2 separate regions of the Homo sapiens genome follow, and region 1 is linked to region 2. Evidence: promoter capture Hi-C in 16 types of primary human blood cells and fetal thymus (Javierre and others, 2016). All regions are on one chromosome and are shown on one strand. Each heading gives the region's core, a stretch centred on a gene start or on the middle of the fragment in contact. The rest is flanking DNA. Distances are from core to core; before and after follow the strand shown.

Evidence for each region. Contacts are between HindIII fragments. The CHiCAGO score rates a contact against its expected background, and 5 or more counts as called.
Region 1: the fragment with the promoter of YWHAB here is called in contact with the fragment with the promoter of TTPAL in region 2 in 1 of 17 cell types (naive CD8 T cells); the score reaches 6.3 in naive CD8 T cells.

The regions. Positions count from the first base shown.
Region 1 is chr20:44,880,011-44,886,954 of GRCh38, forward strand. It overlaps YWHAB (tyrosine 3-monooxygenase/tryptophan 5-monooxygenase activation protein beta), which reads left to right and starts at 5,695. Exons shown (of 6, transcript NM_139323.4): 1 at 5,695-5,876. RefSeq lists silencers at 5,319-5,378, 5,439-5,988 and an enhancer at 5,425-6,041. The HindIII fragment of the contact is 6,156 bases long and covers 1,713-6,944 here.
Region 2 is chr20:44,470,619-44,477,252 of GRCh38, forward strand. It overlaps TTPAL (alpha tocopherol transfer protein like), which reads left to right and starts at 5,256. Exons shown (of 5, transcript NM_001039199.3): 1 at 5,256-5,373. RefSeq lists an enhancer at 5,052-5,141 and a silencer at 5,232-5,361. The HindIII fragment of the contact is 9,114 bases long and covers 1-6,147 here.

The sequences.
Region 1 (6,944 bases), core at 4,445-6,944, 410 kb after region 2:
AGAAAAAACTCTCACTATATCAGATGCTGGCATGAGTATGGAGCAACCGGAGCTGTTACTGTTGGTGGAAATACAAAATAGTACAGCTCCTTTGGAAAACAATTTGGTAGTTTCTTTATCTTTCTTTTTTTTTATTTTATTTATTTATTTATTTATTTATTTATTTATTTATTTATTTATGAGATAGAGTCTCACTCTGTTTGTTGTCCAGGCTGGAGTGCAGTGGCACGATCTTGGCTCACTGTAACCTTTGCCTCCCAGGTTCAAGCAATTCTCCTGCCTCAGACTGCCAAATAGCTGGGATTACAGGCACCCGCCACCAAGCGTGGCTAATTTTTGTATTTTTTTTGTTTTTTGTTTGTTTGTTTGTTTTTTTAGTAGAGACAGGGTTTCATTTACTATGTTGGCCAGGCTTGTCTTGAACTCCTGATCTCAGGTGATCCACCGATCTCGGCCTCCTGAAGTGCTGGGATTACAGGCATGAACCACTGTGCCTGGCCTTTTTTTTTTTTTTTCTCTGAGATGGAGTCTCACTCTGTCGCCAGGCTGGAGTGCAGTGGCACATTCTTGGCTCACTTCAACCTCTGCCTCCCGGGTTCGAGTGATTCTCTTGCCTCAGCCTCCCAAGTAGCTGGGACTACAGGCATGCGCCACCACACCCCGCAAATTTTTGTATTTTTAGTAGAGATGGGGTTTCACCATGTTGGCCAGGATGTTCTCGATCTTTTGACCTCGTGATCCACCTGCCTCGGCCTCCCAAAGTGCTGGGATTACAGGCGTGAGCCACCGTGCCCGGCAGCCTATTTTTATTTTTAATGTTTTTTTAGGGATGGGGTCTTGCTGTGTTGCCCAGGCTGGAGTACAGTGGCTATTCACAGGCACCATCCCACTACTGATCAGCACGGGAGTTTTGACCTGCTCTGTTTCCAACCTTGGCCAGTTTACCCCTTCTTAGGCAATCTGGTGGTTCCCTGCTCCCGGGAGGTCATCATATTGATGCTGAACTTAGCGCAGACGCCCAGGCAACATAGTGCACTGCAGCCCAGAACTCCTGGCCTCAAGCGATCCTCCTGCCTCAGCCTCCTGAGTAGCTGGGACTACAGGCACGCGCCACCACACCTGGCCAGTTTACTAGTTTCTAACAAAGCTAAACATTGTCTTAACGTATAATCTAACAGTCACACTCTTAGGTATTTACTCAAACAAGTTGAAAACTTATGCCCAAACAAAAACCTGCACACAGATGTTTATCATGGTTTTCTTCATAATTGTCAACAGCTGGATCAAGATAGCTCTCAGTAGGTCTATTAGTTCCCTAAGCCTGCCATAACAAAGGGCCACAAACTGGGTGGCTTAAAACCACAAAAACATATTCTCTCACCATTCTGGAGGCTAGAAGTCTAAAATCAGTGTGACAGCAGAGTCTTGCTCCCTTTGAGACTCTGGGTAGAATCCTTCCATGCCTCTTCCTGGCTTCTGGTGCTGCCCAGCAATCCTTAGTGTTCCCTGGCTCACAGCTCATCACTCCAGTCTCGGCCTCCATTGTCATGTGTTGTTTCCCATGTGTGTCCTGTCTTCAGATGGCATTTTCCTCCTTCTTTAGGGCACCAGCCACGTTGGATTAGGACCCACTCGAATGACCTCATTTTAATTGATTATACTGCAAAAGCCCTTTTCCAAATAAGGTCACATACACAGATTCCAAGGGTGAAAGCTTCAGCATATCTTTCTGGAGGATACAAGTCAATCCTTAAGAATAGGTTAATGGGCCAGGTGTGGTGGCTCACACCCGTAATCCCAGCACTTTGGGAGGCCGAGACAGGCAGATCACCTAAGGTCAGGAGTTTGAGACCAGCCTGGCCAACATGGCAAAACCCTGTCTCTATTAAAAATAAAAAATTAGCTAGGCATGGTGGCACACACCAATAATCTCAGCTACTTGAGAGGCTGAGGCAAGACTCACTTGAACCTGGGAGGCGGAGGTTGCAGTGAGCTGAGATCATGCCACTGCACTCCAGCCTGAGCAACAGAGTGAGACTCTCTCTGGAAAAAAAAAAAGAATAAGTTCATGCATAAACACAATATGGTAGATTCATACAAGGGGATTTTTTAAGCAATCAAAAGAAATAAGTTATCAAATCATAAAAAGACATGAAGGAAACTTAAATCACATTACTTAATAAAACAATCCAGTCAGAAAAGGCGACATATGTGCTGGGTACAATGGCTCACACTTTATTACCCAGCACTTTAGGAGGCCAAGGCAAGAGGATTGCTTGAGCCTGGGTGTTCAAGACCAGCCTGGGCAACATGGCAAAACCCCATCTCTATAAAAAATACAAAAATTAGCTGGGTGTGGTGGCACACGCCTGTAGTCCCAGCTACTAGGGAGGCTGAGGTGGGAGAATCACTTGAACCCAGGAGGTCGAGGCTGCAGTGAGCTGTGATTGCACTACTGCACTCCAGCCTGGGTGACAGAGTGACACCCTGTCAAAAAAAAAAAAAAAGAAGGAAGGAAAGAAAGAAAGAAAGAAAGAAAGAAAGCGAGCAACATATTGTATGATGTAACTATATGACATTCTAGAAAAGGTAAAACTATAGTGTAAAAGGTCTGCGGTTGCCAAAGGTTGGGGTGAGGGGAGGGAGTGAGGGATGAAGAGTTGAAGCAAAGATTTTTAGGACAGTAAAACTTTTATTTATATACATGACATTATGCATGTGTCAAAACCTATAGAACTATGTACAACATAAAGAATGAACCCCAATGTAAACTACGGACTTTAGTTAATAATGATGTATTAATACTGGCTCATCAATTGCAACAAATGTACCACTCTAATACAAGATGTTAATAATAGGGGAAATTGTGTGGAGGAGGGAGAGGGAATGTGGGAACTCTGTAATATCTGGTCAATTTTTCTGTAAACCTAAAACTGTTCTAAAAAATTAAGTCTATTGGCCAGGCACAGTGGCTCACACCTGTAATCCCAGCACTTTGGGAGGCCATGGCAGGAGAATCACTTGAGGCCAGGAGTTTGAGCCCAGCCTGGGCAACATAATGAGACTCTGTCTCTACAAAAACATTTTTAAAAATTAAGTCTATAATTTGAAAAAAGATTCACTGCAGTATATAAGGCTCTAGTATCACTTCTTTAAGGAAATCTTTCCTGCTCTCCCATCATATTCCCAAGATGGGTTAGGTGCTCTTCTCCCAAGCTCCCATAATACCCTGCACATATATTTATTTCTATGGTTGCACCTACCACATTGTATTTTAACATTTATCTGTATCGCTGTCAGTTCATAGCTGTGGTTTGCTGACGCTTGGCCTAGAATGCAGAGATGGTGAAATAAGCTAATCCATTGAACCCTTTAACAGGCACCTAGGAATGCCTGACAAAGGGCACTTCTGTTCCCTCAATGCACTGTTGATGTCATTTGTGGTATAATCATTATTAGCCCTCTGGTCCATTAGGCTATTTTCTGGATGACGGCATAAGGCACAGTCTTGTGACATTAAAAGTTACTTAGCCTGAGTAGTCTCTAGATTACTGGTCTAGGGTCTGCCAAAGACGATCCTCATGGGGAAGTTTTTGCACTAACCTCTCCAGGATTCAAATCCAATGGTTTTGACCCAAAACCATGCTGTTTACGTTACACAACACGTTCTCAATCTTGTTCAACTTAAAAGGTGGCACAGTACAGGGGTCACTGGCACACATGCCTACATGACAGATAACATAAGTGACAAAAGCAGACTCAGGTCGAGAAGGGTCCCTGGCATTTGGGAAAGTCCATGCCCAGTCTAGAACAGGCAGCCACTCCTTGGCTTCAGCCAATTGTTGCCACACAGAAATGTGGACACAGTGTTACCAGACAAGGCAGAGAGGCAGATTTCTGTTCACACAGAAACTTTTCAGTTTAAAAAAGTGTTGGCAACTAAGTCAAACTGCTTAGAAATACTGGAGATGGCATATTGGGAGGGTAAGGAATCATCCAATTGAATTGGGGTATTTACGATGGGGGAGAAATAGCAGCTAAAGGATAAGGGCAGCTTTTGGAGAACCCTGATTGTCACACTCAAGGAACTTATATATTGTCATCTAGGTCTGAGTGCACACTAAATAATTTAAGCAAGAACAGGACACGATTAGAATGGTATTTTTAAAAGATCACTTGGCAGTTGACGGGCGAGGCTGAGACCAAATGGTGAATTAGAAGTCTGTCATTTAGCTAAGTAAGGGTAAAGGCAAGACGGCAAAGGCCTATTTACTTGGCTTTTTCTCCTACCCGACTGCAAACTCCAAGACAGCAGGGCCCCACCTGCCTTGTTCATTGCTGTGTCTCCAGCACTAAGCAAAAAGCCTGTTCAACATTTGTTGAAAGAATAAATGAACAGGAGAGAGGGAAGGCGAGAGGCATTTTGAAGGACTGAGTTTAAAAATCAACTACCTTGAAGCCGGTCGAGGTGGTTCATGTCTGTAATCCCAGCACTTTGGGAGGCTGAGGCGGGTGGATCACCTGAGGTCAGGAGTTTGAGACCAGCCCGGCCAATATGGCGAAGCCCCGTGTCTACTAAAAATACAAAAACTAGCCGAGAGTGGTGGCATGCACCTGTTATCCCAGCTACTCAGGAGGCTGAGGCAGGAGAATTGCTTGAACCTGGGAGGCAGAGATTGCAGTGAGCCAAGATTGTGACACTGCCTGGGCGACAGAAAGAGACTCTGTCTCAAAAACAGAAAACAAAACAAAACAAAACAAAACAAAATCAACTACCTTCAGAGGAGTAGAATGTTGGTAATTGTGAGAGCAGTCATGGAGGGGAGGGGAGCCATGGAGGCCTGTTTCCTTCCCTGAACTTCCTCAACGAGGGGGCATCTTAAAGAAGAAATCATGTACACAGATTTTTGTGGGTTTTTTTTGGAGACAGGGTCTCACTCTGTCTCCCAGGTTGGAGTGCAGTGGCATGACCATAGCTCACTGCAGCCTACAACTCCCGGCCTCAAGCAATCCTCTCACCTCAGCTTCCCAAAGTGCTGAGATTACAGGCGCGAACCACTGCGCTCGACCCTACACAGGTTTTTTAAAAAGACGTTTGTGCATTGGATTCCTGGCACTTCACGTGGCCTCTTCAGTCTACCAAAGAAGGAAAAGGTAAGTACCCTGAAGGATTGAAAGGATTAAATGAACATTGAGGGATGAGCAATTTCTGTTCTTCCCTGGCTCCAGCATTACCAAAGCACACAGTAAGAGGACTGACATCGGCCTCCGACCCAGTGAGGATTACTTTCGGGGTGGAGGGGGAACTGCTAAACCTCGAATCTCCGGGACTGGCCCTGGCGCGTTTCCAGTCCCAGCAGAAAGGGCAATCCCCATCCAGACCACACTCCTAGTCCTCCTTATTCCCACACAGCCCGTATCTTGACCACCCCCAGCTCCGCCCTCTCTCCTCCCACCTCCTTTTCCCGCTCCCCCGCCCCATTTCCTTCTTCTCCGCCCACCTCCTCCTGGGTCCCTCCCCCGGCCATCCGCCCTGCCCCGGCCCCTGCAACCCTGCCTTTCGCTCTTCTTCCTCCTCCCTTCCGTCTGCGCCCCTCCCGTGGGGCCGTGGCAACCCCGTGCCTCGCTTGCCCAATGAGAACACGGTTTGGGGCGGGGCGCGGCCAGGACCGGAGCGGAAGTGGCGATCGGAGCGGAAGTGGAGCTACCGCCACCGCCGCCGCCGATTCCGGAGCCGGGGTAGTCGCCGCCGCCGCCGCCGCTGCAGCCACTGCAGGCACCGCTGCCGCCGCCTGAGTAGTGGGCTTAGGAAGGAAGAGGTCATCTCGCTCGGAGCTTCGCTCGGAAGGGTCTTTGTTCCCTGCAGCCCTCCCACGGTGAGTGCGGCGCGGGGTCCGACCGGGGCCCCCGGGGGCCCAAACTCGAAGCCCCTCTCTGGCTGCTGCGACGACGGCGGCCCAGTGGGTGGGCCCCGTGGGGTAGCGGCGCGCTGCCTCTTTCGCTCCGCGCGGCCGCCGGCGGCGAGGCCAGACCTCGCAGCGGCCCCTCCCTGTTTCCGGGGCCGGGCCCTTTACCTCTTGGAGAGGCTCGGGCCGCCTGAGGTCCTGCCGGCCGGGCGGGGTGCAACTCCGTACTGTGCCGTAAGGGACAGCGGAGCCGGGGATCCCGGACCCTCCCTCACTATCTGCTTCGGGCCCCACGCGACCCCTCCCTGCGTCTTGGTCGGCAAGAACGTCCCCTTCAGCCCTGTCACCTCTGCTCCGTGCTTTCTGGTTTCCAGAAATTAAAATTTAATCAAACGCGGATGAGTTTTCTAGCCCCAGTCCCCGTGTTTGGCTCCTCCTGGATGAGTAAGGGGTTTAACCTTGGGAGACAGCAGTGGGGGAACCCCCTCCCATTTTGCAGTAAAACCATTTCATCATCCTTCACTGGTTATGGAGCCTGGCAGGACCCAAGATTCCCTAGGAAGGGAATTGGGTTTGAATCAAGAAAATCTGTTTGTTGGAGCCGGTTACTGAGTCAGGCCGGATCCCCAGGAAAAAATATCAGGGGGTGAGAATCGGAGTATTTTCTCACAGTATTTACCGTCATTTAATGCCAGATTCTTTTGTGTCTTTACCCCAAATTCCCCCATATTGTGTGTTAGCACGTTTTTCGGTCTGAAATTTGCCCGGTGGCTTCCTGGTCGGGGGGTGGGGAGCGGAGGGAAGAAGAGGTGGGAAGGTGAGTGCATCTTTGCCGCAAATGGAGAACTCCCATATAATGGGGTTTTCAGAGGTGGCAGCCTTGGTAAGCAATTTGCCAACCTTTCTGTAAAATACATGTTTCTTGTCGTTGCCTTCATTGCATTTCTCTTTGGTAAGGCTAGATAGCATCAGGTCCTGATTTTGCTTGCCCTGTGTGGGAGATGGAATTTGGCAAGATGATGCTATGAACATAAAATC
Region 2 (6,634 bases), core at 4,006-6,505:
CTGTTGGTGATTTGTCCCCACACGTTTTTTGGAGTTCATGAAGATGCCTTGTCACTTAGTTTTGTTGTAAATGTGTTTATGAATTTTTTTCTATTTTTATTTGGGGATTTGGGGATATTCAAATCTATGCTAGGCATTATTGCCTCCATCTTTCCAGAATTCCCCAGCTGGTATTATTTTCACCAATGAGGAAACTGAGCCCCAGGGGAAATGTGATTTGCCCAAGATCACACAGCCAGTGACAGCGCAGAGATGCATGTGAGGTCACCTGCTTTCATGCAAGGTACAGAGAAGATGCCTGATATGGACCACTCCCTCCTCATCTTCCTCCCTATTTCCACTGGTCAGTGTCTTTACAGGATTCTGGGGGGTTTGGTGGGGGGCTTTTTTGTTTGTTTTTTGAGGTGGAGTCTTGCTCTGTTGTTTAGGCTGGAGCGCAATGGCACGATCTCGGCTCACTGCAACCTCCACCTGCCGGGTTCAAACGATTCTCCTGCTTCTGCCTCCTGAGCAGCTGGGATTACAGGCACCCACCACCACACCCAGCTAATTTTTGTATTTTTAGGAGAGATGGTGTTTCACCATGTTGGCCAGGCTGGTCTTGAAATCCTGGCCTCAAGTCATCCTCCTGCCTCAGCCTCCCAAAGTGCTGGGATTACAGGCGTGAGCCACCGTGCCTGGTCCCATGATTCTGTTATTGACAATCAAATGAAACTATCCATGCAAAGAGCTTATCACTGTACCAATGAAAGCATTCAGTGACTGGTAGCAGTTAGTATAGGATTTTATGGTTGATGAAACCAAGGGTTGGAGAGACAGATAACTGTTCCATTGTTACACAGCTGGTAAGTGACACAGGCTTTAGACTCAGGTCTGTCTGACCAGAACCTAACATTCTTTCTCCCACACTAGTTCTTAATTCAGAGCAGCTTTGTCTCCCAGCTGGTATTTGGCAATGTCTGGAGATACCTTTGGTTTTTATCACTGTGAATGTGGAGTGCTACTGTCATCTAGTGGGTAAAGCCTAGGAATGACATTAAACATCCTACAGGACAACATCTCTCCCATGCCCCCGAAACAAAGACTTTTCCAGCTCCAAATGTCAATAGTGCTAATGTTGAGAAATTATGCCCTATACTGTGGTGCCATCCTAAATAAGCCTTGCCAGGCAGGGCACGGTGGCTCACTCCTGTAATCCCAGCACTTTGGGAGGCTGAGGCAGGCAGATCATCTGAGGTCAGGAGTTTGAGACTAGCCTGGCCAACATGGTGAAACCCGTCTCTACTAAAAATACAAAAATTAGCCGCGCGTAGTGGTACACACCTGTAGCCCCAGCTACTAGGGAAGCTGAGGCAGGAGAATCGCTGGAACCCAGGGGGTACAGGTTGCACAGAGTCGAGATTGTGCCACTGCACTCCAGCCCGGGTGACAGAGTGGGACTCCATCTCAAAAAAAAATAAAAAGAAAATAAATAAAACTAAATAAGCCTTACCTTAGAATCAATACTAAGGCTGGTCCTAGGAGATTTTCTGAGCTCAGAATCACAGGCCCTGAACAGAGACAGCTCAGGCATGTCTAGCCTCCTCCAGCAGGTATGCAATGCAATGTCAAGATTTTTTTCTTCAGAGGCTGGATGAAACGAGGAGAGCAAGATGTTTGAAACCTTCCAAACCAAGACACAGGGCAAGCCGCCCCCTGGTGATCTTTCTGCTTGAGAGGGGGTGATCATCACCGATAAACAGACATTTCATGATACAATGTGCCAGAACTCTGCACATGCCATTCTTTTTTTTTTTTGAGACAGAGTCTCACTCTGTTGCCCGGGCTGGAGTGCAGTGGCATGATCTCGGCTTACTGCAACCTCTGCCCCCCGGTACAAGCGATTCTCCTGCCTCAGCCTCCTGAGTAGCTGGGATTACAGGCGTGTGCCACCACACCCAGCTTGTTTTTTTGTGTTTTTAGTAGAGACAGGGTTTCACCCTGTTGGCCAGGCTGGTCTCAAACTCCTAGCCTCAAGTGATCCGCCCGCCTCAGCCTCCCACAGTGCTGGGGTTACAGATGTGAGCCACCGTGCTCGACCTGCACATGCCGTTCTATGACATCCTCCCAAGGATCCCCTCTAAACAAAGGCCATATCCCCATTTTATACATAAGGAAATGAGTCTTTTCAAGAGGTTGTTCAGACTCCATAAATTCTGAGTGTCCAAGGCAGAGAAGACAGACATCAAATACCAGCTCAAACACTTAGTCATCATGTGACTTTGGGCAATTTTTTGTCCTTCTCTGATCCTTTTTCCCAACCTGTAGAAACAGAGACAGGGCTACATGACCTTTAGGACAAAGTAAAATTTGGGACCATGGTGTCATACAGGCTTGAATTGATACCTAGCTCTCTCTTTCATATCTTGAGCCCTTAGGAGACTTTCTCTTTCTGAATATTTTACATTATTTTATTTTATTATTATTTTTTGAGATGGAGTCTCGCTCTGTTGCCCGGCCTGGAGTGCAATGGCACAATCTTGACTGACTGCAACCTCCACCTCCCGGGTTCAGGTGATTCTCCTGCCTCAGCCTCCAGAGTAGCTGGGATTACAGGCGCCTGCCACCATGCCTGGTTAATGTTTGTATTTTTAGTAGACACGGGATTTCACCATGTTGGCCAGGCTGGTCTCAAACTCCTGACCTCAAGTGATCCACCACTTTGGCCTCCCAAATTGCTGGGATTACAGGCATGAGCCACCAAGCCTGGCCTCTTTCTGGATTTTAGTTTCCTCTTCTGTAAATGGGACAATCCTAGCTCGCTGTTCACAGGGTCATTGTAAGGTGAAATTAAGATCATACAAGCACAGTGCCTGGTATATATAATTCAAAAAGCAGAAACTCTTTTTGTTGTCATTGTTTATCGGAGATGTTCTAATCCTGATATAATCTGGTTCTCTAAAATGTAATACCAAGAGGAACAAGAAATAATGGCCCTCAGTTGAGGGAAGAGGCAGGGATTTCTGGGGCATCTCTGAATCCTCTCCCTGCCCTGCCCTTGAGACCAAGTTCTTCTCCTGCTGGCAACATCTAGGATTGCCATCTGGGCTCCAGGTACCAGTAGTAGGTCCTAGGTTTGGGTTAAGGAGAGGGGTGAATTTATTCCAATACCTAGGACAGCCTGGTTAGGACAGGGTCATCCCTCACCCTTTGCCACAAGAGCTGCCATTTGGCAGGGCGCAGGAGAATGGCTTGAGCCCAGGCAGCCTCCCAGGTGGCTGGGATTACAGGCCTGGCTAATTTTTGTATTTTTAGTAGAGACAGGGTTTCACCAGGTTGGCCAGGCTGGTCTCGAACTCCTGAACTCAGGTGATCCACCTGCCTTGGCTTCTCAAAGTGCTGAGATTATAGGCATGAGCCACCACATCCGGCTGTTTTGGGGGGTTTTCTTTTTGAGACAGAGTCTCGCTCTGTCGCCCAGGCTGGAGGGCAGTGGCATGATCTCGGCTCACTGCAACCTCTGCCTCCTGGGTTCAAGTGATTCTCCTGCCTCAGGCTCCCGCATAGTTGGGTGTGACAGCCGGAAGTGGGGGCCTCGGATTACAGGCGTGTGCCACCACGCCCAACTAATTTTTGTATTTTTAGTAGAGACAGGGTTTCACCATGTTGGCTGGGGTGGTCTCATCATACTCCTGATCTCAAGTGATCCACCTGCTTCAGCCTCCCAAAGTGCTGGGATTCCAGGCGTGAGCCACTGCACCCGGCCTTACCTTACGTTTTAAAAGATCTCACAGATGTGATTAATGTAAGGATCTTGAGATGGTAAGATTATCCTGGATTATCTGGCTGAGCCCAATGTAATCCCAAGAGTCCTTATAAGAAGAGGGAAGCAGGAGGATCAGTCAGTAGTAGAGGTGACAACAGAAGCCAGAGGTTGAGGTGATTTGAAGAAGGGGCCATAAGCTAAGGAATGCAGGTGGCCTCTACAAACTGTAAAAGGAAAGGAACTGATGCTTCCTCCAAATCCCCAAAAGAATGCAGCCTTGCCAACACCTTGATTTTAGACTTTTGACCTAGAGAACTGCAAGAGAATATATCTGTGTTGTTTCAATCCATGAAGTTTGCAGTAATTCCTTGTAACAGTAACAGGAAAATAATACATAGATTTAGCAAACAAAACAAAATCCAGGATGCCCAGTAGTCATATTTGAATTTCCTATAAACAACAATTTTTAAAGTATAAATGTGTCCCAAATGTTGCATAGGACACACTTATCTGTGTGTATGTGTGTGTGTGTTTGGAAAGGAACATGCTTAAATGTTTATCTGAAATTCAAACTGTAGTGAATGTTATATATTTTGTCTGTCAATCTTAGAAGTGATGAAACTGAGAGCAGGAGTCAAAACTCATGATTCCCAGGTCGCCTCCATACTGCTGCCCCCTGCCCCTCAATCTGGCAGAAACTGCCACGTTCTTGTGGCCCTCATGGGTCACTTCCCATCTTCTTGGGACTCCTCTTGCCCCTGGGGTAGGAAAATGAAAAGACTGTTTAAGGTCGTTTCTTTAGGCTCAGAGTTCTCCTGGACCACCAGAGGTTCTGCCTCAGAGGGACCTAGGAGATTTGCCTCAAAGTTGCAGTTGCACAAAATACTTGCGGGCGGATCTTAATGGACTGGGGTGGGAGTTAGTAAAGCCTTTGTCTGGAGGGAACGTAATGAACCCCAAAGCAGGAAAAAAGTAATTATTGAATCAGGCTCCAGAGCAAGAATCAGGTTTCAGGTAAGGAAACGGAAGCACAAGAAGGAATGGGGACTTGCTCCAGGTCACTCAGTTAATGACAGACAGATGTCCCCTGGTTTGGAGTCTCCCTTTTTGGAGCAGCTAGTCCTGATAGCAGCCATAGTGGGGGGAAGTCTAGAATGCTAATCCTGAGGTCCGGGTTTGAAGCCCTTTACTGCCTTGATTGCCAGTTTCCCTTTCCTGAAATAGGGGAATTGCATAAATATGAGGAGTTAATGAGATCATGGATGTTAAACAACAGGTACATGTTAGCATGTTCTTGGAAAATGGCAGCTTCTTTCCTTCCTTCTCTGAGCCTCAGTTTCCCCATCTATAAGCCGGGTTTGACAAGCGGCTGGTGCCCCAGCTCCTCCCAGCCACTCCAGGTCCGCAGCTCGGAGCTCCGGCAGCCAGGTGGGGACTGAACACCAACGCCGCGGGGAGGCGTCGCACATGCGCGCTCCTAGGCGGAGCCCCGCCTCCCACGCCCTGGATCGTCACTTCCGGCGCGAGAGGCCGGGCAGGCCGGGCAGGGAGTGCGGGTCGGTTCTGCGTGCGCTGCCGGACGAGGCTCCCGCCGCCGATTGACCCGCGCTCCGCCCGTAGTCGGGCCGGTGAGTGCCCGCGAGCCCATCCGTGTGCCCTGGGAGCTGAGGAGAGGGACCCCTGAGAGGGAAGGATAACCGGAAGTGGGGACCAGAGGAGCGAGAGACCCCAGGAAATGGGGACACCTGGGGAGGGGGTGACAGCCGGAAGTGGGGGCCTCGGAAGGTTGTCCACGGGATATGGGGTCTCGGGGGCTCTAGGAGAGATGGCTTCCTGACCTCTCCTTGTTGAGAGGAAGGGGTGGAAAGGAAAGTGATGCTCCAGAAAGGATGGGCTCCAGGTGGGGGAGATCTTTGGCTTCACCGTTACCAATGGTGTCTGCATCTCACTCATATGTCCGCCTGTCAGCTCATTCACCAGCCTGTGACTGAGTCCTGCTGAGCGCTCGGCACTGCTGAGTCCCTGGAGAGTCAACATGAAGCTCCAGGTGGAGGGTACAGATTAGAAGCCCAGGGTGGGGCTAGACGCATCCTTGCTCTGCCTCACCGGGTGTGCCCCCTTGGGCGAATCGCTTAACCTATATCCTCCGCTGATGTGTACAGACCACTGCCATGTGCCCGGCACTGGGGGTGGCAGTGGACATGGCAGACAAGCCCTCTGCCCTCGTGGAACTTAGATTCTAGGGGACAGTCCTTTTTGTCCTCCTTTGTAAAATGGCAACAGTAATAGCGCTCTCACCAAATAACGTGAAGATTAAATGAGGAAATGGGTAAAGGGCTTAGCAATGCTTGATACATGGTAAAATGCTCAAGTATGCATTCTCTTCATTCCACTATAATGTAAGCTTTATTAGGCAAGGAATTGTATTGTTTGCGTCTGTGTTCCCAGTGCCTGTGAGCACAGTGCCTGACATATATGGTAGGTGATCGGTAATTATTTGATAAATGAGTGCGTGGTGAAACTGACTCTAGATAAATGCCCATAGCATTGGACTGTAATTTCTAAAAAAGAAATAGGAACCCAGTTCTGTGGAAAACTGGAGGGAATCACCCTCAGGGAGTTTGGGAAGGATTCACTGAGGTGGTGACATGGCAGCTGAGCCTGAGCTGTCAAGTTAGGAACAAATTAGAAGAGGAAATTCCAGGCAGAGTGTATCAGAAGTGCACGAGTTATTCCAAGGATGATGGGTTATTAGTTTGTTTTGACTGGCATTTAATGTGCATCAAGGTGGGGTGCGATGGAAAATGAGGCTGGAGAGGGGCTTTGAGGTGAGGCTTGTACCTTGTGAACACTGATGTTTGATGGGATTGCAGGCATCTCTTGGTTACT